Regions from separate parts of the Homo sapiens genome. Here regions 2, 3 and 4 are each linked to region 1. Evidence: promoter capture Hi-C in 16 types of primary human blood cells and fetal thymus (Javierre and others, 2016). All regions are on one chromosome and are shown on one strand. Each heading gives the region's core, a stretch centred on a gene start or on the middle of the fragment in contact. The rest is flanking DNA. Distances are from core to core; before and after follow the strand shown.

Evidence for each region. Contacts are between HindIII fragments. The CHiCAGO score rates a contact against its expected background, and 5 or more counts as called.
Region 2: a contact is called between a fragment that was not itself captured here and the fragment with the promoter of CCNB1 in region 1, in 1 of 17 cell types (M1 macrophages). The highest score is 5.2, in M1 macrophages.
Region 3: a fragment that was not itself captured here is called in contact with the fragment with the promoter of CCNB1 in region 1 in 3 of 17 cell types (neutrophils, M2 macrophages and endothelial precursors); the score reaches 17.2 in neutrophils.
Region 4: a fragment that was not itself captured here is called in contact with the fragment with the promoter of CCNB1 in region 1 in 1 of 17 cell types (erythroblasts); the score reaches 5.1 in erythroblasts.

Annotation. Positions count from the first base shown.
Region 1 is chr5:69,165,479-69,168,607 of GRCh38, reverse strand. CCNB1 (cyclin B1) reads right to left here and starts at 1,458. Exons shown (of 9, transcript NM_031966.4): 1 at 1,325-1,458; 2 at 530-700; 3 at 265-435. The coding sequence starts at 1,345. RefSeq lists enhancers at 1,203-1,432, 813-1,778. The HindIII fragment of the contact is 10,262 bases long and covers 1-3,129 here.
Region 2 is chr5:69,527,418-69,530,546 of GRCh38, reverse strand. The region is part of intron 4 of OCLN (occludin); the gene reads right to left. Among named protein-coding and RNA genes, the nearest start is that of SNORD13B-1, 10 kb to the left of the region's middle. The HindIII fragment of the contact is 904 bases long and covers 1,165-2,068 here.
Region 3 is chr5:69,508,887-69,512,015 of GRCh38, reverse strand. OCLN (occludin) reads right to left here. Exons shown (of 9, transcript NM_001205254.2): 3 at 2,197-2,875. Among named protein-coding and RNA genes, the nearest start is that of OCLN, 18 kb to the right of the region's middle. The HindIII fragment of the contact is 2,696 bases long and covers 288-2,983 here.
Region 4 is chr5:69,469,552-69,472,680 of GRCh38, reverse strand. It overlaps the pseudogene RPS27P14. Among named protein-coding and RNA genes, the nearest start is that of OCLN, 22 kb to the left of the region's middle. The HindIII fragment of the contact is 4,373 bases long and covers 1-3,129 here.

The DNA of each region.
Region 1 (3,129 bases), core at 209-2,708:
TCCCATATGGGCCACTTACCTGTGTGACCCTGACATAACCTCTCTAAAGCCATGATTTAAATAGTAGAGGTGACAATACCTCAGAGAGTACGTGTAAAGATTATGTGAGTTAATGCATGTAAAATGTTAGGCAGAGCTTGCCTCATGCTAAGCACTCAATAAATGGTATTAATATTACTATTCATTTGAATGCTCTTGCATGTATCAGTGAAATAAGGGACAAGAAATAATCAACAGACTCTACAATGGTAAGAATAAGTTTACCAAAATAGGCTCAGGCGAAAGTTTTTCTTCTTTAACAGGCTCAGGTTCTGGCTCAGGTTCTGGCTCTGGCACTGGCTCAGACACTGGCACTGGCACCAGCATAGGTACCTTTTCAAGAGGTTTTGGTAGTTTTTTATCAATGACTTTTCCAGTAGCTGAAGGTTTTGCTTCCTGTAGATGAAACAGAGAGAATGAAATGTTTCTGCATCAAAGGCCACAGTTGGAAGGCGGGCTCTTACAGAAGTTAGGTCAGGAAGAGAGTTACCTTCTTCATAGGCATTTTGGCCTGCAGTTGTTCACTGACTTTGTTACCAATGTCCCCAAGAGCTGTTCTTGGCCTCAGTCCGGGCTTGGAGGTTGCAGCAGGGGCCGTAGGAACGCGCTTTGCGCCTGCCATGTTGATCTTCGCCTTATTTTCAGCATTAATTTTCGAGTTCTGAAAGAAGCAAGACCACTTTAAGAGCTGATCCACGAAGGCTCGAGTAAGTCAAGGGTTAATTAAGGTGGGGCACAAGGAGAAGTTCCCAGAAAGAAAGCCGACTAAAAATGGGTTCCGAGGGAAAACATGGGTCCCAGAGTCTACTCTGCGGCCGTGACAAGTCAGTTTCCGCCGACCTCTACATTTACCAATTGAGGGATTCCCTGATTAGTCCTGGCCAGCCCTAAAATACCGAGAATTTACATTTGAAAGGAAACCGAAAAAGCCTCCAATTGCAGACACCTTCTCTCTGGGAAGGGGGTTACAGAGTTGCTGGCGGGCCCACTCAGGGACCCTCTATCACTTTTTCAAAAGGTTCCCAGTCGACTCTCCACCTCCCCAAAACATTTATCCAATATCCGTCCAGTTCTCTTTCTCACCTTCCTCCCTCCATCCATCGTCCCCCACACTCTCTCACCAGGCCTGGGCCCACCTCGGCGCTCTCTTGGTGAGTCCCCTCCCACCTTCCTCCCCAAATCGCTCCTGCGGCCCTCTCCCGCTCGGGAGGCTCCCGCAGGCGAGGCAGGGAGAGCAGGCAGCAGCTAAGAAGGCCGCGTTAGTTCGCAGTCCGAAGCGGCTCACCCTGGTGACTCGGAGCGCCATGGCTTCCTCTTCACCAGGCAGCAGCTCAGCGGGGAGAAGCAGAACACCGGAGGCCCGACCAGCCAAGGACCTACACCCAGCAGAAACCAACAGCCGTTCCGCCGCAGCACGCCGAGAAGAGCCAGCCTAGCCTCAGATTTAAACCCCGCACTGCTCCCTCCTTATTGGCCTGTTCGTGGCACTCACTCCCTTCCCATTGGCGGCTGCCGGTCGCAGAGAATGCGTTTCCAGGGCGATCGCGCGAAGGCGTTCGAGAGGGGCGGGGCCACAGTGAGGCTAGGCCGGAAGGCCTGGCCAGGCTCTCACGTGGTCTGCCTCTGCGCCTGCGCTCTCGGGCAGCTGCAGCGGCCACCTGGAGAGCAGTGAAGCCAGTGCGCCGCCCACCTGGAAAGGTTAGCCGGGCAAGAGTGTGCGTTGCCAATGCCAGCTCAGGAAAGGCCTAGTGGCCTTTGGAAGGTGACAGAGGCGCGGCCACAGTCTCAGAAGTGTCAAAAGTAGTTTTGGATCTAGTGTTGCACACTTTCCATTTCTACGGTAGCAGCAATAATATAGTTCATGAAAGGCTTTAATAGACATTCTTTCATTTGATCGTTGCAACAACTCTCTGGGTTGGAGGAACTGAAGCTCAGCGACTTAGATGACTTTGCCAGGGTCACACATTAGCAACGGGGGAACTGAATTTAGGGTTTTTTTTTTTGAGGGGGAGGGAGGGGGTGTATCCGTGTTGTTTTCACAACACTGATTGTCCCTTAACAATATTACTTGATTACTTCAAGATTGTCCAGTTTCCCAAGGCCAATTGTTTTGTTTGTTTTAGCTTTCTATTTGGAAATAATTTCATACTTAGACCAGTTGCCAACAAAAATCTTGTAAGGAATATTTCTATGCCCTTTACTCAGATTCAACTATCCTTAACATGTATTTGCCTCTCATGGGAAAATCAGGAAAAACTAAACAAAAAGACATTTTACCCCATTTGCTTTGTCATTTGCTCAGATTCTCTCTAGATCCAAAGAAAAACAAGAGGGTTCTTTTTGCCTTCTACTCCTCAAAACACACCAGCAGCTCAGCAATTGGAGGGGAGGCTGAAGGACAAAAACATTGCTATCCCATAGAGCAACGGTATAAGAGCCAATAGAGACTCCTGGCGCTGGAAGTCACGGATCCGAAAGAAGGCGCCCAATCATTTGGTTTCTTTGGATCGTTATTGAGTCTTCTGTCATCATAGTTCACCCTCCTACTCGAATGCCTCCCGTGGGGCCCTTACCCTTGCTCTCCTCTGCCTGGAATGCCCGCCTCTTCTTGCATTCAAGCCCCTGGGTTCTATTCAGGTAACTCCCATTCATCCTTCAGTTCTGTGTTCAACATCCATTCTCACTCAGTCTTTCTGGGTTTGATCAATCCTTCCTCGCCCCATGCAGGGGCGAGAGGCAAGGGGCGAAGCAGGATTACTTATCCTCTGTGTTCCAGTTTAAAAATTTTTTTTTTTACTTTTTTTTGAGACGGAGTCTCGATCTGTCGCCCAGGCTGGAGTGCAGTGGTGCGATCTCGACTCACTGCAACCTCCACCTCCAGGGTTCACTCCATTCTCCTGCCTCAGCCTCCCGAGTAGCTGGGACGGCAGGCGCCCGCCACAACGGCCGGCTAATTTTTTGTATTTTTGGTAGAGACGGGGTTTCACCATGTTAGCCAGGATGGTCTCGATCTCCTGACTTGGTGATCCGCCCGCCTCGGCCTCCCAAAGTGCTGCGATTACAGGCGTGAGCCACCACGCCCGGCCAAAT
Region 2 (3,129 bases), core at 367-2,866, 360 kb before region 1:
AAAACAAGGAGTACGATCATTTTTTTTCCTCTTTACACTGCAATTTTCCTGAAAAAAGGCTAAAATATTTTTTCCTCTAACCCACTTAATGGTACCAATGCCAAGTAAGTATAAACCCAGTATCTGCGGCTTTTGAAGGACAGTAGGAAAGTAGAAGGGGGTTGGAGGGGGCAATACAAAGTGAACAGGTGCTCATTTCTACAAGGAGTCCCCAACCTGTATTTCCTATTATGAGAGAAATGACTTCTGAATTTCACTGTTATTACTGACAGAATGCCCCAGTCAGCTCATAAAACTCAATGATGTAGTTAAAGTTCTCTTAAAAAGGAAAAGAAAAATATTTTAATTTTCACAGTAAGATTTTTTTTTCTTAAGAGATGAGGCCTTGCTATGTTGCCCAAGCTGGACTTGAACTCCTGGACTCATGCAATCCTCCTACCCTAGCCTCCCGAGTAGCTGGGACTACAGGGTCACACCACTACATCTCACTTTTAAAGAATGAGTACTTGAGAAAACCAGCTAGGCATAATTCTAAACAGCAAAGTGTCTTTGTAACAATTTTCCCTTAAGTAACTTGAGGATATCTCTAAGAAATTAAGGACAGAAGAAAGCAGGATGAAAACACAAATCAAAGATTTCTCTAGGCCAGGTGCGGTAGCTCATGCCTGTAATCCCAGCACTTTGGGAGGCTGAGGCAGGAGGGATCACCTGAAGTCGGGAGTTCGAGACCAGCCTGGCAAACAAGGTGAAACCCCATCTCTACTAAAAATACAAAAATTAGCCAGGCATGGTGACGCACGCCCGTAATCCCAGCTACTTGGTGGCTGAGGCAGAAGAATCACTTGAACCCGGGAGATGGAGGTTGCAGTGTGCCGAGATTGCACCACTGTACTCCAGCCTGGGTGACAGATTCCATCTCAAAAAAAAGAAAAAAACAACAAAGTAACTCAGACTTACTCTTGAAATTACATTCAAAAAGGACAAGCACTCACACTGAACATGCTTAAGGAGTATGAATTATTAATTTAGGGAATATGCAGGGAAATTTTATTAAGATTCTTATTCCAATCAAGAAAGAATTTATTTCCGAAATAGCAAAATGAAATATTATTTTAAAAGATCTTCACAAGAGGTAATTATGAGGATAAATTTTTATTCAAAGCTTAATTGTACTCATTAGAAGTGTTCTGATTATGTCACTTGTGAAAAAATTCTTTGTGACAAACAACATCTAACACTCCTTGGAGAGTTAATGAAAACATCCTAAACCCCTGTGGGATGCCAACAGGAAAACAAACAGGGCAGCTCTCCTTTAGAGCAGCTCAGGTGCTCTTCTCCAAATACCTACCGTGATTCTTCCTCACCTGAGAGTAAGATGGGTCTACACCATCATGTTGGTCCCACCTTCCCCACCCTGACTCCCTGAAGTCAGAGAAGGAATAAAAAGGTCAAGAAGGAATGTTCTAGGTCACTTTGAAAGAAAATCTTCTCTCCTCCAAAACAAAGATCGGGGAAAACACTTATCCCCACTTAGATCAATTTCATATTTCATTTGGAGTTAGTAAAAGCAAAATATATGCAAATTATATGCAATTATAGCTAATCCTCATTTTTCTCCTCGCCCTAATTTCATCCCTAGTTCACACATGGGAGAGAGTCAGGCTAGACCTGCACCCATGTGGTCTAGCAATGTGCAAAAGCCATCTACCTCTAAGAAGGAAAGGGAAGTTCACCTGTTGAGTATTCAGCATGTGCCAGGCAAACCCGACTTCGTTTATTCTCACCGCCACCCAAGGAGATACAATTATCTCTATTTTCAGATGAGGAAATTGAGTTTCTACAGTTAAATTAACTTGCTCAAAGTCACAGAGAAGGTAAAGTAGCAGAGGGGAGATTTGAACCCTGGTCCATCTAGCTCCAAAGCTCAGCTCTTTCTGGCATAAAAAACTGCCACCTCAAGAATTCAAACATGGCTTGAAGTACCCATCTTGGATGGGTATTTTGACTGGTCTTTGTAACAAAGGAGACCATTCTCATTGTCTTAAACTCCTCCCCATTTTGAAAAGCTTTATTTGCCTATTAGTTTAACTTTGTAAGAGCAGCTATTGATGCAAAATTATTATGAGTATGTTTCATGCCTTTGTTTAGGTCAGCGTTTAGGAACACCTCTCTCAAAAAGGAAAGAGTAGGATTTTCCCAGCTTGGTGATTAAAGTGGAGATATACCTCAGGCATCAGAGGGAGGAGCATCTTAATCTTAAGGATCATCTCCAGGTTTACAACCTGCCCATTCCACCCTCCTCAGCCCTATGCCCTTGTACTACAGGTTCTCAACAGTAAGTGGTCTAACTCGTTTTTCCTGTTTTTTGATATTTTACACCCTCAGATACTCCCCCAAATAAAAGCTTCAAAATCGACTGGAAAGTTCTCTTAGACTTTTCTCCACCTTTGGTCACTTGAAGGCAGACGGTCCCACATCTACTAATCCCACAAATAATGAGATCGTGGACCAGGTTTGAACATGTCTGGTTATTTTACCTTGCTCAGATGGCATTTAGGATTTAGAAAACAAATTGCCCCTACCCAACTGCACGCTGTCCAAAGAAACAGTAATAATATAGACCAATGAGAACTATAAATAAAATCCTAAGCCCCCAACCGAGAAGACCCCCTTTTGGCCAAGAGTGCCCCAGAGAAATCTTAACTGAGTTCCTGGCCATGACAGAATGGGAGGTCAGACACAACTCATTTACTCCCTCCCTTCTGCGGTTCAGACACAGCTGACCAGCATTCATGTTAACATAGAGATCATCAAGACTGATAGAAATAGACTCTTTGTGGCAATAAAACACCAAATTATAAATAAGACCTAAGGCCATGCCAGACAAGGGTTAAATCCCACACCCCTACATTTGTCCTAACCATACACTATGTTCTAACCACCATAAGGTTGCTCTTTTTCTCCAGCAGCCAAACAAGCACTGGCCTCAAGATAAGCAAGATTAAAGCAATTGCGTAAGCCTACTATGTACCCACAAAAATTAAAAATAAAAACTTACAAAAAAATACAAAAAGAAAACAACTGCAGCTCATCCACCAACAGATACTGACTGACCCCTGTTCCACAAGC
Region 3 (3,129 bases), core at 386-2,885, 340 kb before region 1:
GTTTTGCTCTTGTTGTCTAGGCTGGAGTGCAGTGGCACAATTTCAGCTCACTGCAACCTCCACCTCCTGGGTTCAAGTGATTCTCCTGCCTCAGCCTACTGAGTAGCTGGGATTACAGGCACGCCACCGTGTCCAGGTAATTTTTCTATTTTTAGTAGAGATGGAGTTTCACCATGTTGGCCAGGCTGGTCTCGAACTCCTGACCTCAGGTGATCCGCCCACCTTGGCCTTCCAAAGTGCTGGGATTACAGGCGTGAGCTACCATGCCCGGCCCAAAACTAAAAGCTTTTATGCAAAGGACACCATCAAGAAAGTGAAAAGATGCCTATAATCCCAGCGGTTTGGAAGGCCAAGGCAGGATCACTTGAGCCCAGGAGTTCCAGCCCAGACCGGGCAACAAAGTGAGACCCTGTCTCTACAAAAAATTTTTTAAAAAATTATCCGGGTGTGGTGGCATGCCCCTGTGGTCCTAGCTACTCAGGAGACTGAGGTAGGAGGGTCACTTGAGCCCAGGAGGTCAAGGATGCAGTGAGCTGTGACTGCACCACTGCACCCCAGCCTGGGTGACAGTGAGACTCTGTCTCAAAAACAAAACAACAACAAAAATAGCCCAATTAAAACATGGGCAAGTCTAGGCCGGGCACAGTGGCTCACACCTGTAATCCCAGCACTTTGGAGGCCGAGGCGGGCGGATCACGAGGTCAGAAGATAGAGACCATCGTGGCTAACACGGTGAAACCCCATCTCTACTAAAAATACAAAAAAAAAAAAAAATTAGCTGGGCGTGGTGGCCGGTGCCTGTAGTCCCAGCTATTCAGGAGGCTGAGGCAGGAGAATGGTGTGAACCCAGGAGGCGTAGCTCACAGTGAGCAAAGATCACACCACTGCACTCCAGCCTGGGCGATAGAGCAAGACTCCGTCTCAAAAAGAAAAAAAAAATGGACAAGTCTAAACAGCCATTTCTCCAAAGATAAGAGAGAAATGGCCAATAAGTACATGACTATATAGCTAATAACATTAGCTATAAAGAAAATACGAATCAAAATCACAATAAAGCACCACTTCACTTCTCACCCATCAGCATGGCTAGAATCAGACAATAACAAGTGTTGGTGAGGATGTGGAGAAATTGGAACTTTCATACATTTCTGATGTGAATGTAAAATGATGCAAACTCTTTGGAAAAACTCTGGTAGCTCCCCAAAAGATTAAAGAGTCACCATATGACCCAGCAATTCCACCCCTAGGTATAACCCAACTCAAGAAATCATTAAAACATAGGTTCACACAAAAACGTATACAAGAATGTCTATAGCATGATTCTTTTTTTTTGAGATGGAGTCTTGCTCTGTCGCTCAGGCTGGAGTGCAGTGGCGCAATCTCAGCTCACTGCAAGCTCCGCCTCCCGGGTTCACGCCATTTCTTCTGCCTGAGCCTCCCGAGTAGCTGGGACTACAGGTGCCTGCCACCATGCCCAGCTAATTTTTTTTGTATTTTTAGTAGAGACGGGGTTTCACCTTATTAGCGAGGATGGTCACAATCTCCTGACCTCATGATCCGCCCGCCTCAGCCTCCCAAAGTGCTGGGATTACAAGCATGAGCCACCGTGCCCAGTCTAGCATGATTCTTAATAGCCAATGTAGACACAAATGTCTATCAACTGATAAATAAAATGTGGTTTATCCACACACTGGAATATTAGCAATAAAAAGGAATGAGAGAATGGCACAAGCTATGACATGGGTAAACCTTAAAAACATTATGCTACGTAAAAGAAGCCCATCACAAAGACCACATTGTGTGATTCCATTTATATGAAATACCTAGAGAATAGACAAATTTATAGATGTAGGATTAGTGGTTGCCTAGGGCTAAGAATGGTTAGGGAAATGAGGAGTGACCGCTAACGGGTACAAGTTTCTTTTTAGGATAGTGAAAATGTTCTAAAATTGATTGTGGTGATGGTGGCACAATTCTGTGAATATATTAAAAACCACTGAACTGTTATTTAAGTAATCAAATTACATGGTATGTTAATCATATCTTAATGAGACTCAGCCCCTCCCCCAGATTTAATTAGAAGTGGAGCCTTGTCATCAATATTTTTTAAGAGTTTCCAGAGTGATTCTATCACATATCTCAAGTTGAAGGCCTCTGCTAAGGAGATGGAGAAAAAACCCAAAACACCACTCATACCTCCTGGGGATCCACAACACAGTAGTGATACAAATACTGATCCACGTAGAGTCCAGTAGCTGCAGGTGTATAAAATTGGTTGCAGAGGGCATATATTTGTGAACCATATAGAGATCCAGAAGACTGAGCAGTTGGGTTCACTCCCATTATATAGACAATTGTGGCAATAAACACCATGATGCCCAGGATAGCACTCACTATTATCACACTTAAGTAGTATCTTCTTGTTCTGGACATTTCAGATCTTATAACACTGGTAACAAAGATCACCAACGCGGCAATGAAACAAAAGGCAGCCATGGCCAACATGAAGCCCTTTGCTGCTCTTGGGTCTGTATAGCCTCCGTAGCCATAGCCATAACCATAGCCATAGCCATAGCCACTTCCGTAGCTACCAAAGCCACTTCCTCCATAAGGGTAGCCTACACTACCTCCTAAAAGGGAAGTTCCATAGCCTCTGTCCCAGGCAAGCGTGGAGGCCACACAGGCAAAGATGGCAATGCACATCACAATAATGAGCATAGACAGGATCCGAATCACTCCTGGAGGAGAGGTCCATTTGTAGAAGTGAAGAATTTCATCTTCTGGGTAAAAAGAGTAGGCTGGCTGAGAGAGCATTGGTCGAACATGCATCTCTCCACCATATATGTCATTGCTTGGTGCATAATGATTCGGTTTGCTGAAATGAACATGAAAATAATTTCAAGTTAGCATTTTTTGGTAGTAAGCAGAAAGAACACAACTTATTTGGAATAATTTAAACCATTGGGTAAATGAAACTAAAGCTTATCTGTGCACAGGAATCACCTGGAGGGCTTGTTAAAACATAAGATTATTGGCCTCTAGCCACAACCCATTCTGCTCAGACATTTGGGTTATCTCTGTTTGGGGGTATTGTAAACAGTTTAACTATAAACATCCTTGAATGTGTAT
Region 4 (3,129 bases), core at 249-2,748, 300 kb before region 1:
ACACTGGGGGAGGCCGAGGTGGGAGGATCACTGGAACCCAGGAATCCAGGATCAAGCTGGGCAGCACAAGACCTTATCTCCACGAAAAAAGTTTTAAAATTAGCCGGGTGTGGTGGCAAGCACCTGTAGTCCCAACTACTTGGTAGGCTGAGGTGGGAAGATTGCTTGAGCTCAAGAGGTTGAGGCTGCAGTGAGCCATGATCACACCACAGCACCCCAGCCTGGGTGACAAAGTGAGAACCTATTAAAAAAAAAAAGTTTGGGTGTGGTGGCTCACACCTGTAATCCCAGCACTTTGGGAAGCCAAGGCGGGAGGATCACTTGAGCCATGGAGTTCGAGACCAGCCTGGGCAACATAGTGAGAACCTGTCTCTATTTTTTAAAATAGTCCAAATAACCACCCATTATCTGTACCTATAATTAGCCTGAAAGTTAGAGACAACATATCATTATCATGGCCTTCTAGGGACAACATATCAAACTATCAAAGAAGTAGTGAAATTGAATATTTCTCTTGTATTCCTTCCCTTTGATATCAGTTCTGGCAACACAAGAGAAGAAAAGAGGGAAACATCCAAAGGAAATCCAGTTATGAACTCAGCTCTGTCAGAAATCAGCTGCGTAGTTTTTTTAAATTATACTTTAAGTTCTGGGATACATGTGCAGAGCATGCAGGTTTGTTACATAGGTATACATGTGCCATGGTGGTTTGCTGCACCCATCAACCCGTCATCTAGGTTTTAAGACCCGCATGCATTAGGTATTTGTCCTAATGTTCTCCCTCCCCTTCTCCCCCACCCCCCTACAGGCCCTGGTATGTGACGTTCCCCTCCCTGTGTCCATGTATTCTCATTGTTCAACTCCCACTTATGAGCGAGAATATGCAGTGTTTGGTTTTCTGTTCCCGTGTTAGTTTGCTGAGAACGTTGGTTTCCAGCTTCATCCATGTCCCTGCAAACAACGTGAATCATTCTTTTTTATGGCTGCATAGTATTCCATGGTGTATATGTGCCACATTTTCTTTATCCAGTCTATCATTGATGGGAATTCGGGTTGGTTCTAAGTCTTTGCTATAGTGAATAGTGCTGCAATAAACATGCATGTGCATGTGTCTTTATAGAATGATTTATAATCCTTTGGGTGTATACCCAGTAACAGGATTGCTGGGTCAAATGGTATTTCTGGTTCTAGATCCTTAAGGAATCGCCACACTATCTTCCACAATGGTTGAACTAGTTTACACTCATACCAACAGGGTGAAAGCATTCCTATTTCTCTCCACATCCTCTCCAGCATCTGTTGTTTCCTGACTTTTTAATGATTACCATTCTAACGGGTATACATGTGCCATGAGATGGTATCTTATTGTGGTTTTGATTTGCATTTCTCTAATGACCAGTGATGATGAGCTTTTTTTCATATGTTTGTTGACTGCATAAATGTCTTCTTTTGAGAGGTGTCTGTGCATATCCTTTGCCCACTTTTTGATGGGGTTCTTTGTTTTTTTCTTGTAAATTTGTTTAAGTTCCTTGTAGATTCTGGATATTAGACCTTGTCAGATGGATAGATTGCAAACATTTTCTCCCATTCTGTAGATTGCCTGTTCACTCTGATGATAGTTTCTTTTGCTGTGCAGAAGCGCTTTAGTTTGATTAGATCCCATTTCTCAATTTTGGCTTTTGTTGCAATTGTTTTTGGTGTTTTAGTCATGAACTCTTTGCCCATGCCTATGTCCTGAATGGTATTGCCTAGGTTTTCTTCTAGGGTTTTTACGGTTTTAGGTCTTATGTTTCAGTCTTTAATCCATCTTGACTTAGTTTTTGTATAAGCTATAAGGAAGGGGTATAGTTTCAGTTTTCTCCATATGGCTAGCCAGTTTTCCCAGCACCATTTATTAAATAGGGAATCCTTTTCTCATTGCTTGTTTTTGTCAGGTTTGTCAAAGATCAGATGGTTGTAGATGTGTGGTGTTATTTCTGAGACCTCTGTTCTGTTCCATTGGTCTATGTATCTGTTTTGGTACCAGTACCATGCTGTTTTGGTTACTGTAGTCTCATAGTATAATTTGAAGTCAAGTAGCAGCTGTGTAATTCTAAGCAAGACATTTAATCTGCCTTTACCACTCACAATAATGTCTCTGTGTTAGTCCATTTGCATTGCTATAAAGAAATATCAGAGACTGGGTAATTTATTTATTTTTTATCCAAAATGTGTTTATTGAGGCCAGGCACAGTGGCTCATGCCTGTAACCTCAGCACTTTAGAATGTCGAGGTGAGCAGATCACCTGAGGTCAGGAGTTCAAGATCAGCCTGGCCAACATGATGAAACCCCAAAATAAGCCGGGCATAGTGGCGCATGCCTGTAATCCCAGATACTCAGGAGGCTGAGGCAGGAGAATTGCTTGAACCTGGTAGGCGGAGGTCGCAGTGAGCCAAGCTCACACCACTGCACTGCAGCCTGGGCGACAAGAGTGAAACTCAGTCTCAAAAAAAAAAAAGTGTTTATTGAGATGATTTCCCACTCATCTTGATTCGGAGTGCTTTTTAATGCTGCTTCCTCCTGAAGGAACATCCTTCTGTAAGCCTTGCTTTTCTTTCTGTAGGCTGGCAGAGGACAGTGGAGCAGCCAACACACAAAATTTCTGTTAGTGCATGGCTAAAGACTGTGATGATTTTGTACCATCCTGGGCATTTACACCCATGAAGTAGGAATTGGGGCTCTGCATCAGGCACTGCTTCTTGTGTTTCCTCTTCCCCTATTCTGGAGAGGGATGAAGGAGATCCTTTGTGAGAGGCATGTTCTCCTGGGTAGGTCGTCACCGCTGGAAAAAGACTGGGTAATTCGCAAAGAAAAGAGGTGGCCGGCCACAGTGGCTCACGCCTGTAATCCCAGCACTTTGGGAGGCCGAGGTGGGCGGATCACCTGAGGTCAGGAGTTCAAGACCAGCCTGGCCAAAATGGTGAAACCCCATTTCTACTACAAATACAAAAATTAGCTGGGCGTGATGGCGGGCACCTGTAATCCCAGCTACTTGGGAGGCTGAGGCGGGTGAATCGCTTGAACCTGGGAGGCGGAGGTTGCAGTGAGCTGAGATTGCACCATTGCACTCCAGCCTGGGCGACAAGAGT